3 separate regions of the Homo sapiens genome follow, and all the other regions are linked to region 3. Evidence: promoter capture Hi-C in 16 types of primary human blood cells and fetal thymus (Javierre and others, 2016). All regions are on one chromosome and are shown on one strand. Each heading gives the region's core, a stretch centred on a gene start or on the middle of the fragment in contact. The rest is flanking DNA. Distances are from core to core; before and after follow the strand shown.

Region 1 (3,898 bases), core at 1,231-3,730, 500 kb before region 3:
TTCTTTAAATACATCGTCTTCATTTCCTTACCTCTCATTCATTTGTTCTGCTGAAATGTGACTTCCACCCTACCAACCAACAAAATGGCTCTCATCAATGTTGCTAAATTAAAGGCCTGTTTCTAAGTCTCTATGTTGCTTGACACCTTCCTGTAACATATGACATTTTGATCACACCCTTTTCTTTAAAACACTTTCTTCTCCCCAGTTTCCTTAAGGTTAAGACTCTTCTGGTTTTCCTCCTAGTACTATGGTGGTTGCTTTATAGATAAGGGACTTCAAATATCCTAAGCCTTCTCTTATTCTCAACAGGGTTGGGGGGCCCATGGTATTTAAGTTTAAAATCTATAGGATTTATATAACGCTGATTCCTAAATCTTTTCTACAACCCAGAGTTCTCTCACAGGCTTGAGATCTATTATCCAACAGCTACACTTGACATCCACAGATACTGCTAACTTACAATATCCAAGCTCATGATCTCCCCCCTCACAAATATACTTTCTCTATTGTTTCTATTTCAGCAAATAGTTCCCTCATTCACCCAACTGCCCAAGACAGAATCTTAGGCACTATTCTTAACTACTGCATTGCTACCTTCACCTAATCCATCTCTACATCATAAATATCACAAATCTTCTGAATATCTCTCAACTCTACCCTCTTTTTATTTCAAAAGCCAATAGCCACTATCATCTCTCACCTAAACTACTGAAAAAGGCCTTCTAGCTAGTTTCCCTAACTGTAGTCTCAATCTCCTTTAATCCATTCTCTGCAGTGCAGGCAGTATAAAGCCTTAACTAAAGCTGAACACATCACTCCAGGGCTTAAAACCCCTTTAGTGGCTTCCCAGTGAATTCTTTTCATGGCTTAAAAGATCCTCCATGATCTGTCCCTGCCTAACTTCCAACCCCTCTGTCTCTTACACCCTACACTGAATCTCTCTCAATTTCTTGAACCTCCACAATTTTGCTTTGTGCCTTGGGCACACTGTTCTTCGTCTTATTTCATCTGGCTCATTCTTATTCATCCCTCAGGTATTGAACAACACTTCTTTCTGGAAGCCTTACTAGGCACCCAGAATAGCTATGTGATTTTCTATATCCTATAATTTCCCCAACACAGTACTCTTCATGTTTTATTGTATTGTTTGCCTTGTTTACTACTAAATCTCTAGCATCTAGACTAGTACATGGCACATTAAGTGAATTCAATAAATTTCTGCAAACATATGCATATTATAATCTCTGCCCAAATTATTTGCCTAGCTCAGCCCTGGCCCCAGCATCCATGTTTAAAAAAAAAAAAAACAAGAGAATATGGGAATTGCTTGGTGCCTAGTACCTGGTGCCTCATGTAATGCTGTTGGAATGCATTGCCATTTTTGAAGACCTTCAGGCAATAAGGGCAGAGCAGATGCCGGGTATCCTCATGGATCATCCGAAAATGGACATCTACCTCAGAGTAGAGTGAGGAGCGATATTGACACACCTGAGTCACATAGGAGGGAAAATAAGGCTAAGAATGAAGTGAACAACTGAGAGGCCTTAAAAAAAAAGGTAGCAACAAAAATTTTTAAATTAAAAAAAAAAAGTTTTCTCAAATGCATAGAAATCAAATTATTTTCCTGACTTTGTAATGCTGGGCTATGTTTGTGATAGGTTTAGCTATTACTTTAAAAATAGGAAGGGACAGAAAGTCTAAGAATAATCCATGTTCTCTAACTAAGAAAAATAAAGCCTTTTCTGTCAATTTCCAAAGGGCACGTTCAGGAGACAGACACTCCCTTAGAATATGCACATGTTCCCGGCTAGTCTACTTGTGGACATGTTCTTTTATGTTTTTCTCCTGCATGGAAACCCTGAAGATAAACTGTGTTTACTATTTCTTCTGTACCTACTCAGAGTTCCTAAACTGAGTGTATGCAGTAGGTGGTCAACAATATTCATTAGTAAATTCTTTGTATTCTTCCTGAGGGCAAAACTGCTAAAACTCCCTGGAGAAAAAGGCAATACCTGGCAAACATAAGGCATCTCTCCAGGCTTATGAGTATCCTTCATATGCTGGAGAAATAGTGGCTCACTTTCAAACGCCCATTCACAGATCTTGCACTTGGCTGTAAGAAGAAAAGTAATCAATAAATCCACTTGAAAATAAGACAAAAGTCCTGCTGACTCACAATCTTTATTTTCTCTGCCTCCTTTATTTTGATTTTCAACAATCAGTAAATCATAGGTCCCTTCTGTTCTTTCTTTAAATGGCTCCACCTTAACATATATGTTGCTGATAATCTTATGTACGTAGCTCAGACTTCTTACCAAAGCTTCATTCTAGATTTTATCTATAAGACATTTTAAATTGGTTATTCTATCGTCAACTCTAACCTAATTCAGCATCCTCCTGTCTTACCACTGTTTCCCTTTTTCCTTTCCCCATTTCTTCCTGAGCTCAAAATTTAGGCACTATCTCGGATTCCAAACCCTGCATTCTGTCACCATTATTTCAAACTGCATGTAGGAACTGTCACTTCTCTATACTTATAATAAGGCAAAAACTTGGTACTAGCCCATATGATTTCCCACTGCTAATCAGCTGGCCTCCAATACCTCCTACTCTCTTTGAAATTGTCCATTTTGTCAAGCTTATGAGAAAAAATTTTGACAAAATTTTATGACACAAATGAACAATTTTGTCAAACTTCTGAGACAATTTTTGGTAATTTCATGTTGGCCAGGTTGGTCTCGAACTCCTGACCTCAGGTGATCTACCTGTCCCAGCCTCCCAAAGTGCTGGGATTATAGGTGTGAGCCACCGTGCCTGGGCTTTTTTTTTTTTTTTTTTTTTTAAGAGACAGAATCTCACTGTTGCTCAGGCTGGAGCATGATCATAGCTCACCGCAGCCTCCTGAGTAGCTAGGACTATCCTTTGAGCTCAAGCGAGCCTCCTGTTTCAGCCTCCCAAGTAGCTAGGACTACAGTGGTGCACCACCATGCCCAAGTAATTAAAAAAAATTTTTTTTTGTAGGGACAGGGTCTCGCCATGTTGCCCAGGCTGGTCGGAAACTCCTGGCCTCAAGCAATCCTTTTGTCAATCCACTTCAGTCTCCCAAAGTGCTAGAATTACAGGTGTGAGCCAGTGCACCGGCCAATTTTGGTAAGACTTTTAACTGCTACATATTTTTAATTATACAGTATGGCAAAAAGAGAGAGATTATTTACATTTTTGTCACTTTAATGGAATTAGTTTCAAGTTTTTGCAAATATGAAAACTGGAAGCTTAAAGCCTTGGGCATTTACTGGACAATGTCTAACCTCCCCCCGCCCCCAGCCCCCTACACCCCAGCCAAAGAAATATGAATAAAGTTGAAATAATTCTTTTTTCTTTTTTTAACTACCGAGAACCCTGGATTTTTGTTTTGAGACAGAGTCTCGTTCTGTCTCGCACGCTAGAGCGCAGTGGCTCAATCATGGCTCACTGCAACCCTGACCTCCCAAGCTCAAGCAATCCTCCCATCTCAGCCTCCCAAAGTACCAGAATTACAGGTATGAGCCACTGTGCCTAGCCAAGTAATTTTTTAAAGTAAAACAAACAAACAAAAGCCAGGGGTTCTTAATCTGGGGTCTATGGAACAGGCCTCTAGGAATCCAGGCTTTCTCTGAAATTATTTGCAAAAGAGTAAAATGTAGATTTTTCTAGGAAGAGGATTCAAACATTTCATATTTATTCTCAAAGAGGTCTGCAACTCCATTTAGAAACACTGTCTACAGGTACATTAGGTGCTATGAGGACATGGATAAATAAGAAATTCTGCATAAAGGAATGAGGAAAAGCTATAACAACATATAAAAGCTGAATTGTCAAAGAATGGGGCTCAGCCAGCCAGAGAGAGGACCAAGAG
Region 2 (4,208 bases), core at 1,522-4,021, 450 kb before region 3:
AAAAAAAAAAAAAAAAAAAAAGTCAATGTTGGCCGGGCATGGTGGCAGGCCAAGGTGGTAGGATTGCTTAAGGTCAGGAGTTCAAGACCAATCTGGGAAACAGAACCGATCCCTCTAAAAAATTTTTAAACAGAAAGGATAATCATATTATATTCATGTAGGAGAATGTATTTATTCCTAGGAAATGCACAAAATATTTAATAGAAATATCTTGAAAGTGACTTTCAAGGGGTTAAGCAAATACATAGATATTTGGCTTTTTTTTTTGAGACAGGGTGTCATTCTATCCCCCAGGCTGGAGTGCAGTGGCACAATCACGGCTTATTGCAGCCTCAACCTCCTGGGCTCAGGTGATCCTCCTGCCTCAGCCTCCCAAGTAGTTGTCACTACAGGTGGGCTATTTTGATATTTTCTTATAGATACTAGTATGCCAACTTTCAAAAAATATTTGGCATGGGCCAAAACATTAAAAATCATCCTGTCACCAGGCGCAGTGGCTCACGCCTGTAATCCCAGCACTTTGGGAGGCCAATGCAGGCGGATCACAAGGACAGGAGTTCGAGACCAGCCTGGCCAACACAGTGAAACCCCGTCTCTACTAAAAATACAAAAATTAGCCATGCGTGGTGGCTGGTGCCTGCAGTCCCAGCTACTCGGAAGGCTGAGGCAGGATAATCGCTTGAATTCGGGAGGCAGAGGTTGCAGTGAGCCAAGATTGTGCCACTGCACTCTAGTCTAGGCAACAGAGCGAGACTCTGTCTTAAAAAAAAAAAGTCACTCTGTCTAGGTGGTGGATAGTTTAAGTGTTCCTTGTAGAATTCTTTCACCCTTTTCTTTTTTCTTCTTTTTGTGATGGAGTCTCGCTCAGTTGCCCAGGCTGGAGTGATCTTGGCTCACTGCAACCTCCACCTCCCAGGTTCAAGTGATTTTCCTGCCTCAGCCTCCTGAGTAGCTGGGATTACATGCATGCGCCACAACGCCCAGCTAATTTTTGTATTTTTAGTAGAGACAGGTTTCACCATGTTGGTCAGGCTGGTCTTGAACTCCTGACCTTGTGATCCGCCCATCTTGGCCTCCCAAAGTGCTTCGGTTACAGGTGTGAGCCACTGCGCCCAGCCTCTTTCTCCCTTTTCGCATGCGTGAAATTTTCTTAATAAAAACTGAGGTGGGGTAGGAGGGAGTGGAACTACCTACTCATATCTTAGCTGTGATATTCTGTACTGCTACATTCCACCTATCTCTTTGGTATTTACTAAATAACTGGTAGCCTTGTTGGTTGAATTTCTTGATTTATTCCCAGGACCAATTTTCATGTAGCTTGTATATATACATTTCTCTTTTTTTATTTTTATGCATCCATTTTCACTTAATATACATTTCTTAAGACATAGCAAAATAGTTAAATAAGAAATAACAAATTAAGGTGGATTATGTAGGCTACCAAGGAGGTACATTACTTTCTTCCATTAATCCATTATTTGACATCTTGGTAACCTAGGTGGTTTCTCTATTTTGTAGTAATTGTAACATGATTTTTTTGTGCACTCAATAGGTTTTACTTAACACTGCAGGCTCACACAGAACTATTAGCAATACTCAGTCTCTTGTCTCATCCTTCAATCCATAATATGGGAGTACCAGATAAATACTCTCCTGGAGGGAAGGGGACTATTTCTTAAATGCTGGCGAATATGGTAGTCTATACTAAGGCCCTATATGATCAGCTAGTCAATAAAAGTCTATATAATTGTAAAGGCAAGATAAAAACAGACCTTTTAAAACAATATACTATTTAAAAGCAGCAAAAAGAATCCTGCAGATACACCTGTATACTTTTAAGGTATTTAATGGGCAGCAAATGTTGCCTATCTTCATCTCAAAGAAAATGAGAAAAAGATCTGTTTTCCACAACTATCCTGACATACTTGGTTCTTGAAAGCTCTGAATTCCTTTGTCTTGTTCTTTCATAGCTGTAAAGTCCAGAAATGAAGAATGAAGAATTCAGAAATGAAGAATTTGGTATCTAACGTTTTCAACTTACTGCCAGTACATACCTGCCCAAAAATCAACATAAAAAGAACATTTGGAACAGGAAAAATATTTTACAGAAAACAAACATTTTAAGAATACCACTTTCTTGTTCCAGGGTGAAAAATAAACAATGATAATCCTCAACATAACTGGTAATTATGTTTTCAAGTTACCTCAATTTTTGGCTCTAAAAAGGACTAATACCAGAAAACCTATAGGGCTGAATACTTAATCTGTGTATAAAACTATAGTTAAACATGTAATAAGCTTTTATTTATCCAGTCTTTTGCACAGCCCATTTTGTCCCTCACAACATCTGTTATAGTACCTCATATGTAAGAATCATAAGGGTTTTAAGTAGTCTTAATAACCTAAAATTTCCAAACTCAAAATACTTTCCTCTTGTCTGGTAGCCAATCCTGTATCAAGAAACACCCAAATATTTAGTTCTGTGCTCTTTACTAAAACAAGTAAGCAACAAGTTCTCTTCTTTAAAGGGGTTCAATATTCAGGAGTCCCTTTCCCAAGAAAAATATCTATACTATGATGGAAAACTTTTCTTCAATGACAGCTGTGTGTTGCCTAAATTCCATTTCTATGCTTTCAATTTCTTTTAACTCTGCTAACACCTAGCAATAGGTTAGTGTCTCTTTTCTGCTCTCCTCCCCTTGGTTACATATAAAAATACGTTTTTCAGTTGGGCGTGGTGGCTCACGCCTGTAATCCCAGCACTTTGGGAGGCCAAGGCGGGTCGATCAAGAGGTCAGGAGTTTGAGACCAGCCTGATCAATATGGTGAAACCCCATCTCTAGAAAAATACAAAAATTACCCAGGTGTGGTGGCGCGTGCCTGTAATCCCAGCTACTGAGGAAGCTGAAGGAGGAGAATCGCTTGAACCCAGGAGGCGGAGGGTGCAGTGAGCCGAGATTGCGCCATTACGCTCCAGCCTGGGCAATAGAGCGAGACTCCATCTCAAAAAAAAAAAAAAGACAAGTTTTTGTGAATATGGCTTAATATCACAAACAAGAATACCAAAGAATCTATCAAAATGTTACCATATTGATATTATGGCAAAGGCATTAACCAGCTCTAGGATTTGTAATCAACCAGCTCTAAAGTTTTTATTTTACAGATAAGGTCAAAACAGTGGTTTAGAGAGACGAAGTAACTTCCTCAAGGTTACAGTTAGTAAATATCCCAGTTAGGATTCAAAGCAAGCTTTTTTTGCTTTAGAATTCTTCCCCAGGTCACTGCCTCTTCCATCAACTTCAACTATTTATAAATTCTCCCAAGTTCCCCAAGGGAGTTAGATTTGAATGATGTAAAGAGCAGAAACATAGGACTGACTGAATGATTCTCATTTTTTTGACTCTTAAAATTATTGAAGACGCCAAAGATCTTTTGTTTATGTGAATTTTATCTTTCCACATTTACCACAAATTTTTAAAATGTAGTATTTATCAATGTATTTTAAGACAAGCCCATTATAAGTTAACATAAATAACATTTCAACAAAAAATACTTTCCCTCCAAAAAGTGAGAAAAGTAACGTTGTTTTGCATTTTGCAAATCTCTTTTATGTCTAACTTGATAAAAGATGGTTGGATTCTCACAGTTACTTCTGCATTCAGTCTGTTGCTATATGTAGCTTTGGTTAAGTATATAATGAAAATCTAGTCGGAAAAGGGAGAAGTATTTTAATAACCTTTTCAGATAACTGTGTTTGGTAAATACTAAAACTCAACAAACGGTAGTTTCTTTCTTTTTTTTTTTTTTTTTTTTTTTTAATAAATAGAGACAGGGTCTCACTATGCTGACCAGGCTCAACTCCAACTCCTGGGCTCACACAATCCTTCCACCTTGGCCTCCCAAAGTGCTGGGATTACAGGAGTGAGCCACCACGCTAGGCCAAATAGTAGTTTCTTAAAGGACAGTTAACATTTTGGAATCTGAAACCACATCAATCCACTTTTTTACTGTTAAAATCCATTGCTATGTCTGGAATTTTCAAAGGATCTTTTGCCTTTGCTTGATTTTGCAACATCATGCATTGGTCATTTGCAAAGCCTAGATTTACTGAGTTATGCCCATCTTCCAAATAACATATTTCATTAAACAACATTTTAAAATATTGCAGTCCTTAACCACTGATATCATAAGGAAAGTCTTTTAAGTAC
Region 3 (3,692 bases), core at 569-3,068:
TTTCATTTCTGAGCCTTTTGGTCTTATGGCATTCCTCTTCTTTTTGGGGGGACAGCAACGGCACCTATTTTTCTTTTTACGATACTGGAGGTGGTCCACACCCACCCCAATGGTCACCAGTGCACTCACAAGACAGTTGGGTGGGGTAGCTCCCTGGCCCCACTTCTTTACTGGCTGGGGTGCATGGTGGTGTCTGCAGCATGTGTGTGTGGTGTCCAGTAGCCACACAGGGCATAAATGAGCCACAGCCACTGCCCAGGCTCCAAGGCGCCGGCATGGCTGGCTGGCGTTCCCTACCAGGTGCCTGCAGTCTCCCCCTCCCCATTCCAGGGAGTCTAGCTCTGTCCCACAGCAATTAAGCTCCTCTCTCTGGTGGAGGAACCATTTGCATAGGAATAAGAGGTTCTTCCCCCAGGCATCCTTATCTCCTCTCCAACCCATCAGCAGTATACTTTTAAAGGAGGTTTTTCTTTTCCTTTTGGAAGACGTTTTGCTCTTTTGGGAATGATGAGGATTACCGTTTATATTTTCTGTAAAGTTTTGTGCGAAAGGATTTGTGAGGTAAGTCGTAAGCTGTAGCCAATCTGTGTGTTTTGCATGTCTTTCTGTATGCTCCACAGCAAACTTCGCTGCAGGCCTCCATCTTGTTTTACGTCCTTGGGGGCGTGGCCTGTAACCCCATTGCATAGCTTCGTTTAGCCCGGCATGGCCCAGATTCATCCTGGCTTAGGGAATGAGTCCTTTCTGGTTTGGTATCTGTATGCCCTTTCGCTATTTGTCGATTCCCCTGCCCTCCACCAACCACCTTGGATTTTCCTTTCTCTGAGCCTTTAAGTAAAGTTTGAAAGCCAGAAATATTGGCCGCTTGGTGGAGCTAAAGTTAGATAATAAGGGTGTTAAAAGAATTTTCTTAAGGAGTGCTCAGCTTAATTAAAAGTAGATATCTAAGTTGTAATTATATTTATAAGGCCTTTATGTTTTCCTTTTCTTGGACCTTATTTTGCTGGAAAAAGTGTTTCTTTGCGGTCGACTGAGTTATTTTTCTCCATTTTGCCTTGCCACTTTTAATGCCTGCATAAGAGGGGCGATCTCTGTTTTCCTCATGGAACCCCAGGAATTAAAAGCAGATAGATCCCTCTCCCTGTGATGAAAGATCTTATGGCAACTGGGTTTTCTTCTGCCTGTCTGTGTAGTTATATATGTGTTGTGTGTGATGTCTATAAAAAGATCTCTAATTAATTGACCTAAAGGAAGATAAGCGTTTGGATCAAATATTTTTTTAAAGGGAAGATAAAAGCTGTGGTATCTTTTAGTTCACGTCACTTTAATCTTTGAAAAATAAAAACAGCCTCAAATATTATTGGTAAAATACAGATGTTGTCAAAATATAAATAGACAGACTAAATTATGCAGTTCAGGTAGCGCCCTGCCGACCCTGTCTCTTAAAAAACAAAAAAACGGGGTCACCTTTCCATCCCTTTTCTAACGGTTTGAATCTCAGGACTGTATTCCTAGGCCCCTGTTGCTTATGCTGCCCTGTGGTGCCCAGGTGAGCTTTTATTCTGAGATTGGCTGGTTGGGGTATGGATAACAATCGAAGGCTCTGTTACCGCAGGCGTGTTTCTGAGTCCTGCTCCCGCCCCATGCCCGAGGGTGCCCAGACTCACCAGCTCGGGTCGCGGCTCGCTTCCCGGCAGGCGCCGGCCTACTGGCGGCAGGCACAGAGCCCCCAGCGTGCGGAGGCGCGCGGCGCAGCTCCTCAGCATGGCTCCGGGCCGCGGGGCCGCGCTTGCTCTAGCCCTGGACGGCGCACTCTACCTCCGCCACAAGAGCGCGCGTGCGAGTTAACCCCTGGGGTGGACGCAGGGCGGGGCTTGGGGAGGAGGCGGTGCGCACTACTGGCGGCTGGCTGGCCGGGGTGTGAGGCCGGCGGGGTCCGGGTAGGGCATCGCTGTTGAGTCTATCTTCTGGTTCCGGCCTTTTCTTTCCGAAGACCTCCCGCTGCGGCCAACAGCCGGGCCACTTCCGGGGCTTCTCAAAGGCAAGAGGAGCGCGGCCGGAGCGGATCCCGGTTATCGCCTTGGGCCCCTCAGCCCCTCAGCCCCGGAACCCGCGCGCCGACTGGAGGCTTTGCGGTCATCCTTCCCACATGACCCAGGGCGTACGCAGTGCTCCGTGTCCCCAAGTAGTTATCCCTCCCCCGGAAGACTGAAGTCCCTGGGGCGGGTAGGAGCGCACGCTAGGAGTAGTATGAATAAAGTGTTTTCTTGGAGGTCATGGGCAAGTCTCTGGACAGGGTTGATAGTGCTGATTTATAGAGGGCAGTCTGGGCACAAAGAGCATTTATACGATCGAAAAGCTGCTTTCCCTGCCAACAGCCCCATACCCTCCCCAGGAGCGCGCTTACGCCTTAAAAGACTCTTTTGTTATGTAAACTGACAGTTAAATTAAACGAAGGTAATGGATACTAAAGGCGTAACAGGTATTGTAACTATTTTACTGTTATCGATGCTTTTGAGGTTACTTACCTCGCTTGTATTCGTATGGTGGGAATACTAGGCGCATACCTTCTGAGCTTCGAATTCAGTAACCTCACTGGGACCTTGAAATCGGACTGGGTTGGAGTATTCCCATTACTCAGATAATGCAAATCCGGGCCATCATACCCCTTTATTTTTAAATGCTTACCAGTATGCCATAGCCCTAGTCCATCCTAAGGTGAAGACTCTAATGGGTTTTTTTTGAGACAGAGTCTCGCAGAGATACTGCTATTGCACTTCAGCCTGGGCAACATACTGATGCCCCATCTCAAAAAAGCAATAAATTAAAAAGAAAACTCGAATGACCTGAATGCATTAGATATTTTGCCTTGATTCCTTTCCCATGAACAACTCCAGCAGTTTGTCAGTAGGTAAGAACACCTAGATACATTTTAAGCCTACACTATTAACTGGGGGAAGGTGTAACATTCTGAGAGAAAGGGAATTGGGGAGAGAAGGCAATGCAGTTAGGAGGGGCCCCTTGGAATCCTAGAGCTACTGAACCGAAGATCAGGCATAAAGGATGGTTGTTGAGATTCTGTAATTCTAAGAGGTTGTATTCTGATATCTCCTAAGCACCCCCCCCAACCTCCCACATTCCCTTTATCTCAGTTGTCTTCCTTTTTAATATATTAATAGTATTGCAGTTTCCTGGTGGCAGGGATGGGGTCAGATTGCCTTATTAATTGTAACAACGTGCACGTAGTGCTTGAATACTTACTTAGCAGCAAGAATCCAAAGTATCTTTGGTGTCTGTTGTCTTCCCATGTTGTGCGTGCAGATGGAGGCACGAGCATAACGTAAATCTCTAAAATTGAGATGACTACTGTTAATGAATAGAAAAGTTTATTCAGGTAACTTAAAATTGCATCTATTTACAATTTACAGTGTAGTCAAATCAATCAATACCTATAGACTTCAACCCTGCTAAGATTGTCTATATGATTAATGTACCAATAGCTCACCTAACAGCTTCCTTTTGTTTTTTTGAGATGGAGTCTCACTCTGTTGCCCAGGCTGGAAGTGCAGTGGCATGATCTTGGCTCACTGCAACCTCTGCCTCCAGGGTTCAAGCGATTCTCCCTGCCTCAACCTCCCGAGTAGGTGGGATTACAGGCGCGTGCCACCACATCTGGCTAATTTTTATATTTT

Evidence for each region. Contacts are between HindIII fragments. The CHiCAGO score rates a contact against its expected background, and 5 or more counts as called.
Region 1: a contact is called between a fragment that was not itself captured here and the fragment with the promoter of THEM4 in region 3, in 1 of 17 cell types (total CD4 T cells). The highest score is 5.2, in total CD4 T cells.
Region 2: a fragment that was not itself captured here is called in contact with the fragment with the promoter of THEM4 in region 3 in 4 of 17 cell types (naive CD4 T cells, megakaryocytes, non-activated CD4 T cells and 1 more); the score reaches 6.9 in naive CD4 T cells.

The regions. Positions count from the first base shown.
Region 1 is chr1:151,410,281-151,414,178 of GRCh38, forward strand. POGZ (pogo transposable element derived with ZNF domain) reads right to left here. Exons shown (of 19, transcript NM_015100.4): 11 at 2,016-2,116; 12 at 1,345-1,491. Among named protein-coding and RNA genes, the nearest start is that of PSMB4, 13 kb to the left of the region's middle. The HindIII fragment of the contact is 318 bases long and covers 2,322-2,639 here.
Region 2 is chr1:151,452,102-151,456,309 of GRCh38, forward strand. All of the region lies in intron 1 of POGZ (pogo transposable element derived with ZNF domain), which reads right to left. Among named protein-coding and RNA genes, the nearest start is that of POGZ, 5.3 kb to the right of the region's middle. The HindIII fragment of the contact is 951 bases long and covers 2,297-3,247 here.
Region 3 is chr1:151,907,693-151,911,384 of GRCh38, forward strand. It overlaps THEM4 (thioesterase superfamily member 4), which reads right to left and starts at 1,819. Exons shown (of 6, transcript NM_053055.5): 1 at 1,668-1,819. The coding sequence starts at 1,766. RefSeq lists a silencer at 1,546-1,855 and enhancers at 2,096-2,215, 2,204-2,791. The HindIII fragment of the contact is 4,270 bases long and covers 1-3,692 here.